Regions from separate parts of the Homo sapiens genome. Here all the other regions are linked to region 4. Evidence: promoter capture Hi-C in human tissues and cell types (Jung and others, 2019). All regions are on one chromosome and are shown on one strand. The core of a region is centred on a gene start or on the middle of the fragment in contact, and the rest is flanking DNA. Distances in the headings are between cores, read along the strand shown.

Region 1 (3,173 bases), core at 400-2,899, 310 kb before region 4:
CTGGGATGATCTCGGCTCATCGCAGCCTCCGCCTCCCAGGTTCCAGCAGTTCTCCTGCCTCAACCTCCCAAGTAGCTGGGATTACAGGTGTGTGCCACCACATCTGGCTAACTTTTGTATTTTTAGTAGAGACGGGGTTTCACCATGTTGGCCAGGCTGGTCCTGAACTCCTGATCTCTCAGGTGATCCGCCCGCCTCAGCCTCCCAAAGTGCTGGGATTACAGGCCTGAGCCACCGCGCCCGGCCAAGGAGTTTTTAAGTAACAGGTTTCTCGACATCTCTCTTAAGAGTCTATGCTCTATGTCTGCGTAGTATTCCGTGAAAAATAAAGAGTACTCTCTGGGGAAAAGTCATCAGTTGGATATTTTCCACCTCAGCTTACAAGTCTTAGGGAAGCAAGAAAACTAGATAAGGGGCCTCAATGACACTGGATCCAGTCAGAGGCTCAGGAAAGAGAGACCTACAGATGTCTTTAGTGGAACAGTCAGTCACAGCAGCTCTTCAAGAAGCCTCAGACTGTGCGGAGCACAGAGCGGGCAGGAGCTACAGACCCTGCAGAGACCAGGAACAGCCTAGCATGAGTCCTAGGCACACGATGAGGAGTACCTGCAGCAGCTGGAGATCTGGAATGGCAGAGGGTACAGGGGGATGGGAGAAAAGGGCAGTTAATGCCAAAACATCTCTCCTCCAACAGACCCCGTCCTTAGAGGTCGACGTTCTCAAAAGCACTTCAAGAAATTCTTGGCCAGTTTAAAGCAACTTCCTGTCCCTCCCTGTTAGCATAAACAACACTATACAGAAACCACCTTCCCAGGCACTCGGCCTGAGATTTTGAGCTTCATTTGTTTACGATCTCCCCCTGCTGTCCGACAGAGGCTTAAGGAACAAAGACCTTTTACTCAGAGACTTCTTTTCCCAGACTCACTCTAAGAGGATGGAGAGCAAAAGTCCGGATTTCTTGTTCCCACTCTCAAATCCGACGATTAGCAGCAAATCCAAGCATCGTGACTTAGACTAAGTGGGCGATTAGCGTTGTTCCCCGTGAAAGAGCAGGCAAGAGACCAGGCTAAGTCACTTCCCTAAAGGATCTTATCTCAATCTGATTTCGGATTCCCGGGGTTCACCATGGGATCAGGCAGACCTCCTGATGTATGTGCTGATGAAAAGTAGGAAAAAGATTTCTAACCGAGAGCCGAAGGGTGACGGCCTCGTTATGTCTTTAACCTCAAACAACCCCACACGGCTGTCCTCTCCAGAAAGCAACCGGGACACCTGCTGCGCCCCAGTGGGAACGAGCTTGGCGGCCTCGGCTTAGAGGGGGCGCGAGGCTCGGGCCCAACACAGCCCACCTGACACAGGCGTGGGAGAAGGCGAGAGCGCCTCTGAACCAAAGGCAGTCATGGAGGTCTGGTGCCTTGTCCACCCCCAGCCCGCAGCCCAAGGGGCGCCGATCCCCCCGAGCAGGCCTGCCTCTGCCGCCAGGGTGCCCTCACCTGAGCCTCCTGCCTTTCGGCCCGCTCAGCTTCCGCGAGCTCATGGCCGCCGTCGTCCCCGCGCGGTGGTCCGGCAGGTTCGCGTCTCCCGGCCAGCGGGTCCCGGCCAGAGCAGCCCTGCGGGCGGCCGGTCTCACGCGCCTAGCTGTCGCGGACTGTTTTTCTTCCGGACTCCGACCGTCCGCCCCGGCTTCCGTCAGAGACGCGCCCTCCGCGCACCCCGGGATCTGGGTGGTGCGGTTCGCAGAAGGAGGCGGGACTCTCCCACGAGCGCAAAGCTGCGAGAGGCTGAGCGAAGACGGGTTCGCGGACGTAAGAGGGGCGTGTCGGGCCTGTCATCAGCGCACGCGCAACACTGCCCCAGACGACGCGAGGTGTGCGGCCGCCACTAGACCCGGCCCAGCCCGCGCCCGCCGTCCGCAGCTCCCAGCGTGCCCCGCGCCAGGGGCCGTCTTCCGGCGGAAGTTGTCTCTTCGCCGCCGCCGCAGCCTCTGCCCCACTCGTGAGGGATCCGAGGGCTCCGTCCTTGTGCTGTCTTCGCCCCGGCTCCCAGGGGTCAAACGAGGGTCGGGGGTGGGGACACGCAGCCTAGCCACTGTCCTGCCTGGGATCCGGTCTCCCCCGCCCCCCGGCTGCAGGTAATCTCCCCATTCCTGCTACTGCGGGAGCGCCTCCGTTCTCCACGCCCACTTTCAGGCTTCTACTCCAAACTTATTGGATTACCTATTGCATATGGGACGTTTGGGGATTCCTGGACTCCTACAGAATTAGCCGTCAATAAATGAAACGTAGGCCGGGGCGCGGTGGCTCAATGCCTGTAATCCCAGCACTTTGGGAGGCCGAGGCGGGCGGCTCACTTGAGGTCAGGAGTTTAAGACCAGCCTGGCCTTAACATGGTGAAACCCCGTCTCTGCTAAAAACACAAAAGCTAGCTGGGCTTGATAGCGCGCGCCTGTTAATCCCAGCTACTCGGGAGGCTGAGGCAGGAGAATCGCCTGAACCCGGGAGGTGGAGGTTGCAGTGAGCCGAGATTGCGCCACTGCACCCCAGCCTGCGCGACAGAGCGAGACTTCGTTTCAAAAAAAAAAAATAATAATAATAATTAGCCGAGATGGGGTTTCGCCATGTTGGTCAGGCTGGTCTCGAACTCCTGACCTCAGCTGATCCACCCGCCTCGGCCTCCCAGAGTGCTGCGATTTCAGGTGTGAGCCACCGCGCCCGGCCTAAAACTACTTTAAATAAATGTTTTGCTTGTTTGGTAGGGTGGATAAAGAGGAAGATGTGAAGAGGAGGCAGACAAAAGCAAAAGGACATCCTGTCAGTAGGAAACGGCCGAATTACAATTCAGATGTGCAATGTTTGCATAAGTAAACTGACACGGGACTATTATATGCAGAAATCCACGTGCAAAAATTTTCAGACACACCTTTGTACCTCTTCCTAATCCTGCCCTGGTAAAATGGCGGTTATCAGTGCAAGTTTGAGGATACATACAGCTGGAAAATGGACATCACCAAACTGGACTCCAGAAAGTTCTGTCTAGGATTTTATTAGACTGCTTTTTTTCTCAATATACCTGTATTGGAAGATTGAGACAAAAAGGCACAAACTCACATTAAATAAACAAGGTAATCTAATCAATTCTACAAAGTGTAGTTTGTAAAACAAGTAGCACTAGGA
Region 2 (3,138 bases), core at 318-2,817, 390 kb after region 4:
GGCCTGGTAGGAGGTGACTGCATCCTGGGGTGGTTTCTGATGGTTTAGCACCATCCTCCTGGTGCTATCTCCTGATGGAGCTCTCGGGACATCTGGTTGTTTTAAAGTCTGTAGCCCCTCCCCCTTCACTCTCTTCCTCCTGCTCCAGCCATGGAAGACGTGCCTCCTTCCTCTTTGCCTTCCACCATGATTGTGATTCTCCTGAGGCCTCCCTAGCCATGTTTCCTGTACAGCCTGTGGAACTATGAGCCAATTAAACTTCTTTTCTTTATAAATTACCCAGCCTCAGGTATGTCTTTATGGCAGTATGAGAAAGGATTAATACAACAGTAGATACCAAAGCACATTTAATGGATTTTACTTTAATGCCAGATGTAAAATATGCATTTGGAAATTATGCTTTCAAGAAAGTCACCTTAACAAAAAACAAGGAAAGACAGTAAGATTATGAGCAGTAACCTAGTTAACAGATGCCCCTGCCCTTGCCATTCAATCTTCATTGTCCAGGCTGACCTGCTGACAGATTATTCTTTTTTTTGAGACGGAGTCTTGCAATGTTGCCCAGGCTGGAGTGCAATGGGGTGATCTCGGCTCACTGCAAGCTCCACCTCCCGGGTTAACGCCAGTCTCCTGCCTCAGCCTCCCAAGTAGCTGGGATTACTACCATGCCTGGCTAATTTTTGTATTTTTTAGTAAAGACAGGGTTTCGCCATGTTGGCCAGGCTGGTCTTGAATTCCTGAGCTCAAGTGATCCACCTGCACTGGCCTCCCAAAGAGCTGGGATTACAGACGTCGGCCACGGCACCTGGCCTCAAATTATTCTTTGACTTGAACTTGATATAACGCATGTTTACTGAGAAGTTACAACAGGTCAGGGACTGTTTTAGATGTTCACAATGTATCAGTGGATAAAACAGACCAGAGACCCCTATAAGCAGGGAGCTTACATTCTTGCAGAATAGTAGAGGAAAATAAATAATAAACATATACACATTAATTATCTAGTATTTAGAAAATAAATCAATAGAATTGGAAGATAAAGAGTGCAGGTTTGGAGTAGAATGCAGCAGTGTTAAATAGGATGGTTGGGGCAGGTCTCACAGAAGTAACATTAAGCAAAGACTTATAGGAGGCGAGGTATTCACCAGACAGATGGCTGGATGCAGAACATTCCAAACAGAGAAAACAGCTAATGCGAAGGGCCAAAGGTGGGAGAGTCCCCAGCTTAGCAGAGAACTTGCAAGAAGGGTAGTGTGGCTGAAGCAGAGTAACCAAGCCATGGGGAGAACAGTCGTGAATGAGCTCAGAGAGAGGCAATGCGGGGGCGGGGGGGGGGGGGGGGGGCAGGAGAAGAGGTCCATATATGAAGGCCTTGTAAATAATGTGGCTTTTACACTGAGTGAAATGGGAAGTCAGTGAAGGATTTTGAACACAGCAGACTCTGTATGTAATGTGTCTGTGTGTGCATGTTTGGGAAGGAACGAGAGAGGTAAGGGGTACAAAAAGAGACCACTTAGGAGTTTCAAGACTTTCTTTCCAAGTTTAAAAAGAAGTTTTATCCACAAGGGGTATTCAGGCCATGTTTGCAAACACAGGTTTTCTCTTCCAATGAGGAATATTGAAGAATGTGTCAATGGCCTACAACTGTATCCCTAGCAGGCATCTGAAAAATAATACTTACGAAACATTTTCCTCTGCTCATTGCCCTGACATGAGTTCTGGGCATCACCCTCTCTCAGGGGAGAGGTGAAAAGAGGTTATGTGGAACAGACAGTGATAACAGGATGACGTCACAGGTGTGCCTCAAAGAAGTCCCTGGTGAGCTGGGCTCATAACTACTCTGCAGTGATTTATTCGACCCTGCCAGCTCCAGCTGGAGAAGAGATGCAGAAAGCTGACACAGCCTAAAGCCCTGGGCAGGCATTATAAGATCTTTCTCCCTGCAGTCCCCTGCCAGCTCCTCCCCTCTTTCAACCACTGATCCTTGCCTCAGAAGCCAAAGTGTGAACAGCACGTGTCCGGATTTCAGAAACCTGCCCAGCAGTTGGAAATTCCCTGCAGCGTGTCAACTGCTACATCTGCTGTTGGCACTTGGGGCAAAGGGATCACACGCGCATATTTTCTGAACATAAGCTTCAAGATATGAGTCTTATATTTGAAGAGGGGACTAAACAAGCCAGAACACTCCAATTACAGTAAATGCATTCCTAAATAGACGACAATCTGCCTTCTGAAAAGGAAACTGAGACATACAAGCAAACCGAATAGCACTAAGAACAGCAGTAGTCAAGAACAAAAGCACAGAGAACCCTGACTAATGGAAAGGATTTCATGGGCCAGCAAGGTTCACCAGATATATAATGTGATGTAGCTGAAACAACAGAGTACTCTTTTCCAAATCTCTAACTCACATCTTTTTGTCAATAAATGGCTCCTATCACTTCAGCTGCAGCCTTTCCTCTCCACTCCTTTGATCTTTCTTCCCCACCCAATTAGCCCTCTAAGTGATATTCTATACACTGGACACCTCTTGGAAAAATGAAAAAATGTGAGCCCAATGACACCATTTGCCATAAGACTGAGCTGTAAATGGGCAGGAGCTGGAAAAGAAACTAATCTTTGGAAGAGCAAACTACATGCCCTTGCCACCCTGGATGTAGGTGCCCAGTCACACTGCTCATGGGCATCACAGGCAGAGCAAAAAAAAAGAAAAGAAAAGAAAGAAAGTCTGAGTAAGTCTGATGGAACAAGGAAATCCCAGCTTCCTCTGGTAGTACGGCAGACTAGACACCTAGATCCATTCTCCCAATCAAACAGCTCATTATTCTGAAAAAAAGAGTATGTTAAACATCTTTTTGAAAAGCATTCGTGAGCTAGTAAAATAAAAGAAAATCCTTTGGTCAGAGATTGAATAAAGATGGGAAACCAGATAGGTAAGTGTGGCATTACAAACAGCCTTTACCCTAAGAACATTTGCTACCTGATGAACTCGAGCTTTGCTTTCCAAGGCTGCATGGACACAGCCAAGATCCTTATCATAAAGCTAGGGTCCCACAAGGCTACACCCCAAATACACCATTTCAGATTATGGAGTCTCTAAAATGCCATGTTGAATATATTTTAGAGAAATAAAAGACA
Region 3 (3,161 bases), core at 337-2,836, 260 kb after region 4:
CCTCCACACCCGTTTGCTTGGCTCACACTCTCCTCCATGCTTGCCCCTGTGTGCCCTTCTCTTCATCTCTAGCCTCCAGCATCCTCTTCTCCCTACTGGCTGAGTGCTCACCAAGGGAGAGGGGCCCTGCTGGATCTGGAGCTTGAAAGCTGAAGGCCATTCCACATGGGAAACACACGTCCGTGGCCAGACGTGCCACAGGGGACGGCCCCTTCATCCTCACTGACTAGCCCCTGCCTCTCTTTTAATGCATCCTCGTTTCTTAGTGTGAAAGGAACTTCACAGTAATAAGCCTTCTATCTGCAGCACATAGGGAAGTACTAACCTGGAGACTACTGATGATCATTTTACAGGTGCAGGTGTTCTCTCTCTCATGTGGACAGCAACCCCTCTGGTGGCAAAGCCTAAATCTCATCGTTTTCGTACGTCACTGGCAAGAATTGTAAGGACAAGCTGTGCACACAGTAGGCTCACAGTAAAGACGGACAGCCCAGGGAAGCTCGGCTGGGTACCACAGAGAGCAGATGAAGCAGGCATGACCCATGTTCTCTAAGACAGTGGAAATAAATGAGCACCGCTGTGCAGGCTGGCTGCCCAGGAAAGTGCGGCACACACCGGTCAACTGTGTGCTCTGTGGCTGCATCCTCTGCCACCTTCACCAAAAAGCCAACCCCGCTTTCCTACACGGTCTAGGAGTGTTCTCTGCTTTCTCTCACCATTGGCCCTGTTACCATTATAGGCTGGAATCTCAAGCTAAGTACTTTGACCACCTTCACCTGAGAGGTTGATGTAGAAGGTTCTCGGCTACCCAGAAGGGCTTAGAAAAAGTTCAGCCCCTTGAGCTTGGGGTGCCTGGTCCTGGGCTTGCCTCCGTGAAGGAGAAGGGAAGCTTGTCTTGGCCCAGGGCAGGTAAGCCTGGTTCCATTGCGTGTATTCAAACATGTGATGAGGAAGGCTAGAAATACAGAAGCAGGGGCTAAAAGGCATTAAAGAACAGAGCCGAAATGAGTAATAGCCTGGCAGGCAGCACGCACAGTGGCCTCCCTGCATCTCCAGCCTCTCACTTGCATAGGAAACTTCTGCATTTCCACAAGACTGCCAGTTTCCTCTCTGTGGTCTAATTTTAACCACCTTGTCGTTACAGTGTGTGTCAGCCACCTGACCCCACTATGACCTCTGACCTTACGCCCCAGCTACTGCTTGCACTATGGAGAATTATGTAATGGGTCCAGGATTTTCCTTCTTGGTGTGAGGCTGCTGCCACTGAATGGAGAGGAGAGGGGAGCTAAGGAGTGAGAAGAGGACAGAGGAAAAGCTTGCAATTGTCCTTGGCCTCACCTGGACGATGAGAGGTACACTGGCACCCCTGCTAAGTGTGCAGAGGAAACCTGCCCAGGACAGGAGTGTGCCACGGACACATGCACAGACAGGCGGGCAGGAGTGTTGCTGCTGCTAGAGCACGGGCTACATGGTATGCTGCGTGGCTAAGAAAGCATGGTTTCTGGCCGACAGGGAGAAAAGCCACATGTGTGGATGTGGGACTCCTGGAGATGGGGATTTCCAGGGCACAGCAGGACCCAGGGATGTGGACATCCTGAGGCCACCTGCAGCACTTCCTTACAGGGTCTGTGGGAATTGCCTATTCCATGGACACAAGCAACGAGGAGTAGCCCTCTCCCAGTTTTCATTTCCGCCCCATTTAGAAGGAAATTGGTTTCCTTGGGGATTGTGTCTGTCATAGCTATTAGTTCCTTCTCTAGGACAAGGACAACTGCTGGCTGATATGCAAAAGGCTGTGATCTACTGGGGTCTCTGACCTGGTGTTAACAGGCCTGGAAAGGATTCTACCTGTTTGGAGAGAGAAAGGTTGTCTGTCTTTTGGAAGAGTACCCTGTCCTTTGCAATCCAAGCAGCAGGGAGGATGGTCAAAGCTGTGTAAAGTGTACTGTGGGAGTGAGAAGTGCACAGTCTGAGCTCTTTAGTAGATGGAGAAACTGAGAGGCAGAATGTCCAGGGCTTGCCCAGAGGCACAGAGAAACCTTCTGTCTGTAGCTCACTGGCCTGTCTGCAAAAGCATTCTGTCTTAACTTGGGGGGAATAAGCCCACTGGGGAGAGGACCACCGCTCTCTTGATGCTGGAGTTCTGTAGGAGACTTACGGGAATATTCTCCTAGACAAAGCCTCCAGCACTTGAGTCAGGGAAAAAGCAACACAAGACAGTTTAAATACAGTTAATAAGAGACTTCATAATGAAAGAAGCCTTTCAAACCACTGACAAAAAGCCAATTCCAAGATGATCTTTGCTTGGTCTAGGAGGACTTCCTGGTAGGAGAGGGGTTAAAGCTGGACTCCCTGCTTGGAGAGGAAGGACTCCAGATGAAGTCTGTGACATCATCCCCACAGTTAACTCTGCTCGTGAGCACATTTTTCCACTCTATATCAATGAAAACCAGAGAATGTAAGTGGCATGTATATCGCAGCTCTGGGGGCAAACTCTGGATCCTCCAGAGGAGAAAGAGCTGGGCGGGAGAGGCTCCCTTCCTGGGCTACATTAGCACGTGGGGCTGGACTGGGGATAGAGGCGACTAAAAGGGCCGCCAGCCAGGGAACACCCTGGGGAGCCTACGGACCTCTCCTCTGCGGTGTACCTTCTCAGTCACAGTCCTGACCCTTCTGGAGGGAGATGCACTGTGTAGGCGATTGTCAAGAATTCCCAAGTTAATTGACAAAATATCACATACAAATCATTTCAATCAGCTTGGGAAAGAAAACTGGGGCTTTAGGTCAGGGAAGAGCTGAAAGAAAGCCCCTTTCCCTTCCCCTGAAGATTGTCGGAGGCAGCTTACCACTGCAGCAGGAACTGAAACCTTTAGCTTTAGGGCTCCAGTTATCACTCTAATCAAGTCCACACGCAAAGAACCAAGCAGAAAGGAAAACTGAAAGTGAGATGTGGAGAGGCGATACCGGAGGCTGTTCTCTCCTAGGCTCAGTTCCTTAGAGAGAGATAATGTAAGCATCGGGTAAGTAGGGGCTGGAGCCAAGGGGAGCGAGGAACAAAGGAGAAAACCTCTAGGTCAAGAGAGTAGACTGGGTTACTGTTCTGGGGTATTTAAGGTGGAGAGGTGGAGAAGTAAAGAAAAATGGTGTTTCTTGACTGGGCA
Region 4 (3,063 bases), core at 191-2,690:
TTCTCACAGCAATTCACTCAACATCCTTCCATTCAGAAATATTTACTGAAAGACTACTTTGTCACAGGCACCATGCAGGTGATGGTTATACAAAGACGAAGCAGACTAGATAGCTACCATCTGTGCTCTTAGATCCTCTTTTTTTTTTTTTTGTGAGGCAGAGTCTTGCTCTGTCACCCAGGCTGGAGTGCAGTGGCACCATCTCGGCTCACTGCACCCTCCGCCTCCCAGGTTCAAGCAATTCTCCTGCCTCAGCCTCCGAGTAGCTGGGATTACAGATGCGCGCAACTACGCCCGGCTAATTTTTGTATTTTTAGTAGAGACGGGGTTTCACCATGTTGGCCAGGCTGGTCTCGAACTCCTGACCTCAGATGATCCGCCAGCCTTGGCCTCCCAAAGCGCTGGGATTACAGGCGTGAGCCACCGCGCCCGGCCTGATCCCTCTCTAGTTTCTCTGAGACACATCCCAGATTTTTCTTTCTCACCCACCCCAGCAACTATTCATTTAACAAGGTATTTCCCTCTCTTACATAGTTCAGCGTTCTGATTAAGTCCTCACCATCTCGTCTGGCATTCTTCCTAGAGTGTTATAATTAATGTCCATGCCATTGGCACCACTCCCCACTTTCAATCCAGCCTCCAACACTGAGACAGAAGTCAGTGCTCTGCCCTTAAATTCATCAACGCTACTCCAAGCATACCAGGAAGCCCAGGACAAAACCATCCTTACTTGACCCTTGTCTGACTTTCTAATTCTCAGGTGTCACTTACTCCTCTGCATGCACCCTTGCATACTGAACAACTCATTGCTATCCCCGGCTTGCCAGGCTATTTCAACTCTCCAATGTTTTGGCATAGGCTACTCATGCTTTCCGGACCAACCCTACCCTGGCTTATGGAGTCCACCTGGAAAATTCCCACACGTTCTTCGACTCGGCTCAAATGGCACCTCCTCCGGGACGGCGTCCCTGATTTCCCAGCTGTGATTCCAACACCCTTGGGGCCTGTACCACGTCTACCTGGAGGTGGGGTTACTGACGGCATAAAGTGCCCCCACACACTGTCCTCTTCTCTAAGGACGGGGGCCGGGTCTGATTCCCTTTCGGAGACCCCCCACCCCCACCCCCCACCGCCACGGTGCCAAGCTCAGGGCTTGGAGGCGGGAAGTCAGCCCCGCGTTGCTGGACGAATCGGGTCACTACTGCGACTCTATTTAGCAGCGGAGGTCTCAAGGAACAGCTTTAACCTCCTCTGGGATACCAACCCGTGCACTCGCCAGAGACCGAGGCGAGAACGCCTCGAGAACCGCTCAGACGCGCCCGGAACTGCGCCCTGGTCTCCCTCCCAGCGCCCGCGCAGCTCCTGGCGCGCCCCTTGGCGCCCCGCTCCGCCCCGCACCGCGTCCGGCGTCCCGCGCCAGGCCTCGCTTGGGACCATGGGTGGGTCACGTGGGCCGCGCCTCGGCCAATGCGGCGGCTGCGTAGCGCCCGGGCCCGCCCCTGAGCCGCGCGCACGTCGGGGGCGGGAGCGGTGCGCGCAACTTCTCGGGCCAATAACTGCGCAGCGCGCGGGACCCGGGTGGGGAAGCTGGAGCTGTTGCGGGGTCCGCGGGGAAGTCTTGGCGGTGGAGCCATGGTCGGCCAACTGAGCGAGGGGGCCATTGCGGTGAGGAGGTGCCGGGGGCTGGGCCGGCGGTCCGGGGTGGCTGCGGCCCCGAGCCTCGCGGAGTAGAGAGGGGGAGGGGAGCCCGGGGCGACGGGGGATGAACGCGAGGGGAGGAGATGGCGGGGGGCGGTGGGGACCCGCCGGGCGTCCCTCTAGTGTCATCGCCCCCTCCTCAAAGCATTCTTTCGATCGTCTTTAAAACATGCTCACATTTTTCCTACGTAAGAACAAACTAAATAAACGCTTGCCTTTCTCTGCATCTTCCACCTGCGGACACTTTCTGTCTCTTCTCCTTTCCCCACCCACAGCCAAACTTCTTGTCTGGTTTCAGCCACTTCCTTTCCTCGCCTTTCATCAACTCTTTAACCCACTCCAGTCATCCCTTTGATCGCTGTAGAAAACCCTGGCTGAAGGTACCAGTGGCCTCCAAGTTGCTAAATCCAGCCCTTTTCCGTTTTCAGCTTACCTGAGTTCTCAGCAGCGTTTGCGTTTAAGCCCTGCTTGCTTCAGGTCACACCCTCTTCCTTGGTTTTTAGTGGCTCAGCTTGGCAGGTCTATCCCCGTCTTATTTGTAAGTCCCTCTTTGTAAATTTTTGTTGAATCAAGGCTCCCTCTAGGCCCTCTTGACTCCCGAGGCAATTTCTTTTTTTTTCTCCAGCCTGGGCGACACTCACTGTCGCCCAGGCTGGAGTGCAGAGGCGCGATCTCGGCTCACTGCAACCTCCGTCTCCCGGGTGCAAGTGAGTCTCCTGTCTCAGCCTCCCGAGTAGCTGGGACTACATGTGTGCGCCACCACACTCGGCTACTTTTTGTGTTTTTATTAGAGACTGGGTTTCATCATGTTGGCCAGGCTGATCTCGAACACCAGACCTCAAGTTATCCGCCCGCCTCGGCCTCCCAAAATGCTGGAATTACAGGCATGAACCACCGCGCCTGGCCCCAAGGCAATTCCATTGCCATCTATTAATATATGTCAGTTGCTCACAAATTTCTTTGTACAGAGCCACCTTTACTCTAAAAGACAAACTTCCGTCATCTGTCTGCTTATTCCATGCTTCAGAGGGTTTTAAGTTCAGTATACGTATCCCAAAGCAAATTCTTTATCTTTCTAAGTCTGGGCCTCTTGATCCCTATCTCCACGGATGGCACCATTATCTATTCAGTTCAGTGCTAACCAGAAATTGAGAAATCATTCCTCCTATATTGTCCATTACCTGGGCATCCAGTCCCTCACGAAGTGAAGTGTATTTTGCCTCTGCGTAGATCTATCAAGCCCACTGGCTTCTCTCCATCCATACTGGCACCGTCTTTTTTTTTGCCTGAGCTGCTGACTTCCACTCAGCATACGTTCCTGCCACCATTCCCATCCACAGCATACTCTCAGCCTACCTCTCCAGT
Region 5 (3,212 bases), core at 23-2,522, 430 kb before region 4:
CCCAGCCTCAGCCGAGCGCCTGGAATAGGTTAAGATCCCCCACGAAGTACAGACCAGCATTCCGAGCCTGCAGAGTCAACCAAAATACAGTTACTGAACACTATTGGAAATAACTTTATTTCAACAGGTCTTCCCATTTGTCATCACGGTGCGCACAAACTGTAAAGTCATCGTTTTTACAAACGGGGGGACGGAGGCTCGGGCTCTACAAAGGCTCGAACTCTCAGAGTCGTGGCCTCCTGGTTCTATCCATCAGAACCCACGGGTGATGGAGCCAGAGAAAGGTTACAGGAACTTCGAGATCTCCTGTTTTAAGTCTGAGGAAAGGGAGGGAGTGAGGATTTTCTGGGCCTCCCCAGAAGACGACGAGGAGGAAAAGCCCCGAAACCCCTCACTACGAGGTGCCGGCCTACGGGAAAGAAACCCGATCGCAGCATGGGAGCCTGCCACCGCCCGAAGACGAACTGCAGTGATTCCCACTCACCCCTCTCCCCCCACCATCATCCACGACTGTCCCCCACCTCAGGCCTGAGGAAGCCCATCGCTCTCAAAGGTCCTCCTTTGTGAGACTCCACGGCCGCCGCCCCACACGGGGCCTCCGGGGAAAAGCCACCGCCCCCACCCGCCATATTTCCCTGAAAGGCGCCCGCGCTACAGCTCCCGGTCTTCGCTCTCTCCCATGTGGCGGGTGCTGCTTCCCCCGTCACCCCACCCAATTGTTCTCCACATCCCAAGGCCGTCCCAGAAGCTCCCATGAGGGTGGCTCGTTCGGAGACAGCACCCGCCATCTCCTCCCCCTCCCCCGCCCCGGGACTCGCCCTCCCCCCAGCCGCCATTTTACAACCAACTCCTCCACCCCGTCGCCCCGGCCTCCCGGCCCGCGAGTTGTTTGCAGTTAAGGACGGCGAAGGGGTCACATTCCAGGGCATAGAGCCTCCCATCGCCCCGGGAGCTCCCAGGCCATTTCCTGCTTCCCGAACCCAAGCCCCCGGGCCAGGCTCGCAGACGATGCCGCCATTTTGTCTCCTGTTCCCGGCCTCTGTGGGCGGCGGCAGAGGGTCCGAGAATTCCAGCCCCCCGTTGCCCCCCCAACTCACCGTCGTATCGCTCAGCCTGCTCGGCCAGCTTCGCCTGGTACACCAGATCCTCTCGATCATCCATAGCGGCAGCGGCTCCGGCAGGGTCTGCGCGACGGATGGAAGCGGATAGTGTCTCCGACTCTCTCAGCCTCTCGCTCCGCGTCCGGGCAGCAAAAATGGCGGCGCCTCAATCCGGGACTTCCGCCTGCGCACGCGGACAACTGCTCAGCTCTATGGCAACCGCTCCCTGGCAACTGGCGCGGGGGGCGGGTCCTGGAACTCGGCGCCCGAAGCGGCTGGAACGAGCGCACGAGACGCCTCTCCTCTGTCGGCTCAGCGGGCGCCGGAGCCCAGAGGCGGGAACTGCGACTGCCGAAAGGGAGCGGCCCCCGGGGAACGAGAAGGGCTGAGGCGGGGCCGGCCGGGACTGCTCCTGAAAAAAGCCAGCGAGAGACCTGGGTCAGACCGGGGCCCGAGGCCCGACCTGCGGAAAAGAACGACGGAGGCTGTAACGGTTTCTGTCATGGCAGGTCTTCTTTCCCGAAATCTGAGGCTGTCACTACCGCGCCCTGGTTTTCTTTTCTTTTTTCTTTTTTCTTTTTTCTTTTTGAGACGGAGTTTCCCTCTTGTTCCCCAGGCTGGAGTGCAGTGGTGCGATCTCGGGTTACCACAACGTCCGCCTTCCCGGGTTCAAGTGATTCTGCTGCCTCAGCCTCTCGAGTAGCTGGGATTTCAGGCCCCCGCCACCACCCCCAGCTTTTGTATTTTTAATAGAGATGGGGTTTCACCATGTTGGCCAGGCTGGTCTCGAACTCCCGACCTCAGATGATCCGCCCCCCCTCGGCCTCCCAAAGCGCTGGGATTCCAGGGGTGAGCCACCGCGCCCAGCCCACGTCCTAGTTTTCTCGGCCAAGCCTGGTCATGGGCCTTTTTCAGACACTTTTAGACTCAGGGTAACGAACCGGGCCCTGGCCGGGCGCGGCGGCTCATGCCTGTCATCCCAGCACTTTGGGAGGCCAAGGCGGGAGGATCACAAGGTCAGGAGTTCGAGACCAGCCTGGCCAATATAGTGAAACCCCGTCTCTACTAAAAATACAAAAAATTAGCTTGGCATGGTGGTGCATGCCTGTCATCCCAGCTACTCAGGAGGCTGAGGCAGGAGAATCTCTTGAACCCGGGAGGCGGAGGTTACAGTGAGCCGAGATCCTCCCATTGCACTCCAGCCCAGGCGACAGTGTGAGACTGTGTTTCAAAAGAAAAATTATATATATATACAAAAATTAGCTGGGCGTGGTGGTGCATGCCTGTAATCCCAGCTACTCCAGAGGCTGAGGCAGGAGAATCGCTTGAACCCGGGAGTGGGAGGGTGCAGTGAACCGAGAGCACACCATTGCACTCCAGCCTGGGCAACAAGAGCACAACTCTGTCTCAAAACAAAGAAAAAGAAAAAAAACGAACTGGGCCCTGTTACAGTTGTCAGGGACAGGGGAGCTCCAGTTTTCACGCCTCAACTTTCCCCTCACACTGATCTTTGTCTTCTCCTGTTTAACCTTTTTCCCTCCCTAGGCCCACTATGAATAGGAGCAGGGAATTTGTTAGATGAGGGTGGTGTGGAGTACATGGTACAGAAGAGTTGGACCAAGATCAAATAAAGATTGTGGAGGCAGGAATAACTCAGTGAACATTGCTTCAGCTTCTGGCGCTTGGGAGGCCCATGCGGAAGGATGACTTGAGCCCAGCCTGGGCAACATAGCGAGACTCCATGTCTATAAAAACGTTTTTTTTTTTTTTTATTTGAGTCGGCATCTCGCTCTGTTGCCCAGGCTGGAGTGCAGTGTCGTGATCTCGGCTCACTGCAACCTCCACCTCCCGGGTTGAAGCAATTCTCCTGCTTCAGCCTCCCAAGTAGCTGAGACTACGGGCACATGCCACCACACCCGGCCAATTTTTTGTATTTTTAATAGAGACGGGGTTTCACCATGTTAGCCAGGGTGGCCTCGATCTCCTGACCTCGTGATCTGCCCACCTCGGCCTCCCAAAGTGCTGGGATGACAGGCCTGAGCCATATCTTAGCAGTTTCAGAGGCTGAAGCAGGAGGATCTCCTGAGTCCAGGAGGTTGAGGCTGCAGTGAA

What was found. The method cuts DNA at HindIII sites, captures the fragments that hold promoters and counts their contacts. A contact is called where the count stands out against the background at its distance.
Region 1: a contact is called between the fragment with the promoter of INPP5K here and the fragment with the promoter of SMYD4 in region 4, in 1 of the 25 tissues and cell types used here (hippocampus).
Region 2: a fragment that was not itself captured here is called in contact with the fragment with the promoter of SMYD4 in region 4 in 1 of the 25 tissues and cell types used here (dorsolateral prefrontal cortex).
Region 3: a contact is called between a fragment that was not itself captured here and the fragment with the promoter of SMYD4 in region 4, in 1 of the 25 tissues and cell types used here (dorsolateral prefrontal cortex).
Region 5: a contact is called between the fragment with the promoter of YWHAE here and the fragment with the promoter of SMYD4 in region 4, in 1 of the 25 tissues and cell types used here (bladder).

The regions. Positions count from the first base shown.
Region 1 is chr17:1,514,963-1,518,135 of GRCh38, forward strand. It overlaps INPP5K (inositol polyphosphate-5-phosphatase K), which reads right to left and starts at 1,650. Exons shown (of 12, transcript NM_016532.4): 1 at 1,494-1,650. The coding sequence starts at 1,537. It overlaps PITPNA (phosphatidylinositol transfer protein alpha), which reads right to left. Exons shown (of 12, transcript NM_006224.4): 12 at 2,756-3,173. PITPNA-AS1 (PITPNA antisense RNA 1) reads left to right here and starts at 1,957. Exons shown (of 2, transcript NR_028514.1): 1 at 1,957-2,131; 2 at 2,756-3,134. RefSeq lists a silencer at 1,736-2,035. The HindIII fragment of the contact is 13,245 bases long and covers 1-3,173 here.
Region 2 is chr17:2,221,224-2,224,361 of GRCh38, forward strand. All of the region lies in intron 10 of SMG6 (SMG6 nonsense mediated mRNA decay factor), which reads right to left. Among named protein-coding and RNA genes, the nearest start is that of SMG6, 81 kb to the right of the region's middle. The HindIII fragment of the contact is 7,215 bases long and covers 1-3,138 here.
Region 3 is chr17:2,086,750-2,089,910 of GRCh38, forward strand. The region is part of intron 13 of SMG6 (SMG6 nonsense mediated mRNA decay factor); the gene reads right to left. SMG6-AS1 (SMG6 antisense RNA 1) reads left to right here and starts at 2,989. Exons shown (of 2, transcript NR_199038.1): 1 at 2,989-3,020. RefSeq lists enhancers at 1,190-1,239, 2,601-2,780, 2,791-2,890, 2,911-3,010, 3,041-3,120. The HindIII fragment of the contact is 6,247 bases long and covers 1-3,161 here.
Region 4 is chr17:1,828,462-1,831,524 of GRCh38, forward strand. It overlaps SMYD4 (SET and MYND domain containing 4), which reads right to left and starts at 1,441. Exons shown (of 11, transcript NM_052928.3): 1 at 1,265-1,441. RPA1 (replication protein A1) reads left to right here and starts at 1,544. Exons shown (of 17, transcript NM_002945.5): 1 at 1,544-1,665. The coding sequence starts at 1,633. RefSeq lists a silencer at 1,293-1,812 and an enhancer at 2,440-2,940. The HindIII fragment of the contact is 28,265 bases long and covers 1-3,063 here.
Region 5 is chr17:1,398,950-1,402,161 of GRCh38, forward strand. YWHAE (tyrosine 3-monooxygenase/tryptophan 5-monooxygenase activation protein epsilon) reads right to left here and starts at 1,273. Exons shown (of 6, transcript NM_006761.5): 1 at 1,098-1,273. The coding sequence starts at 1,161. RefSeq lists enhancers at 1-495, 496-1,133, 1,134-1,771, 2,714-3,212. The HindIII fragment of the contact is 19,322 bases long and covers 1-3,212 here.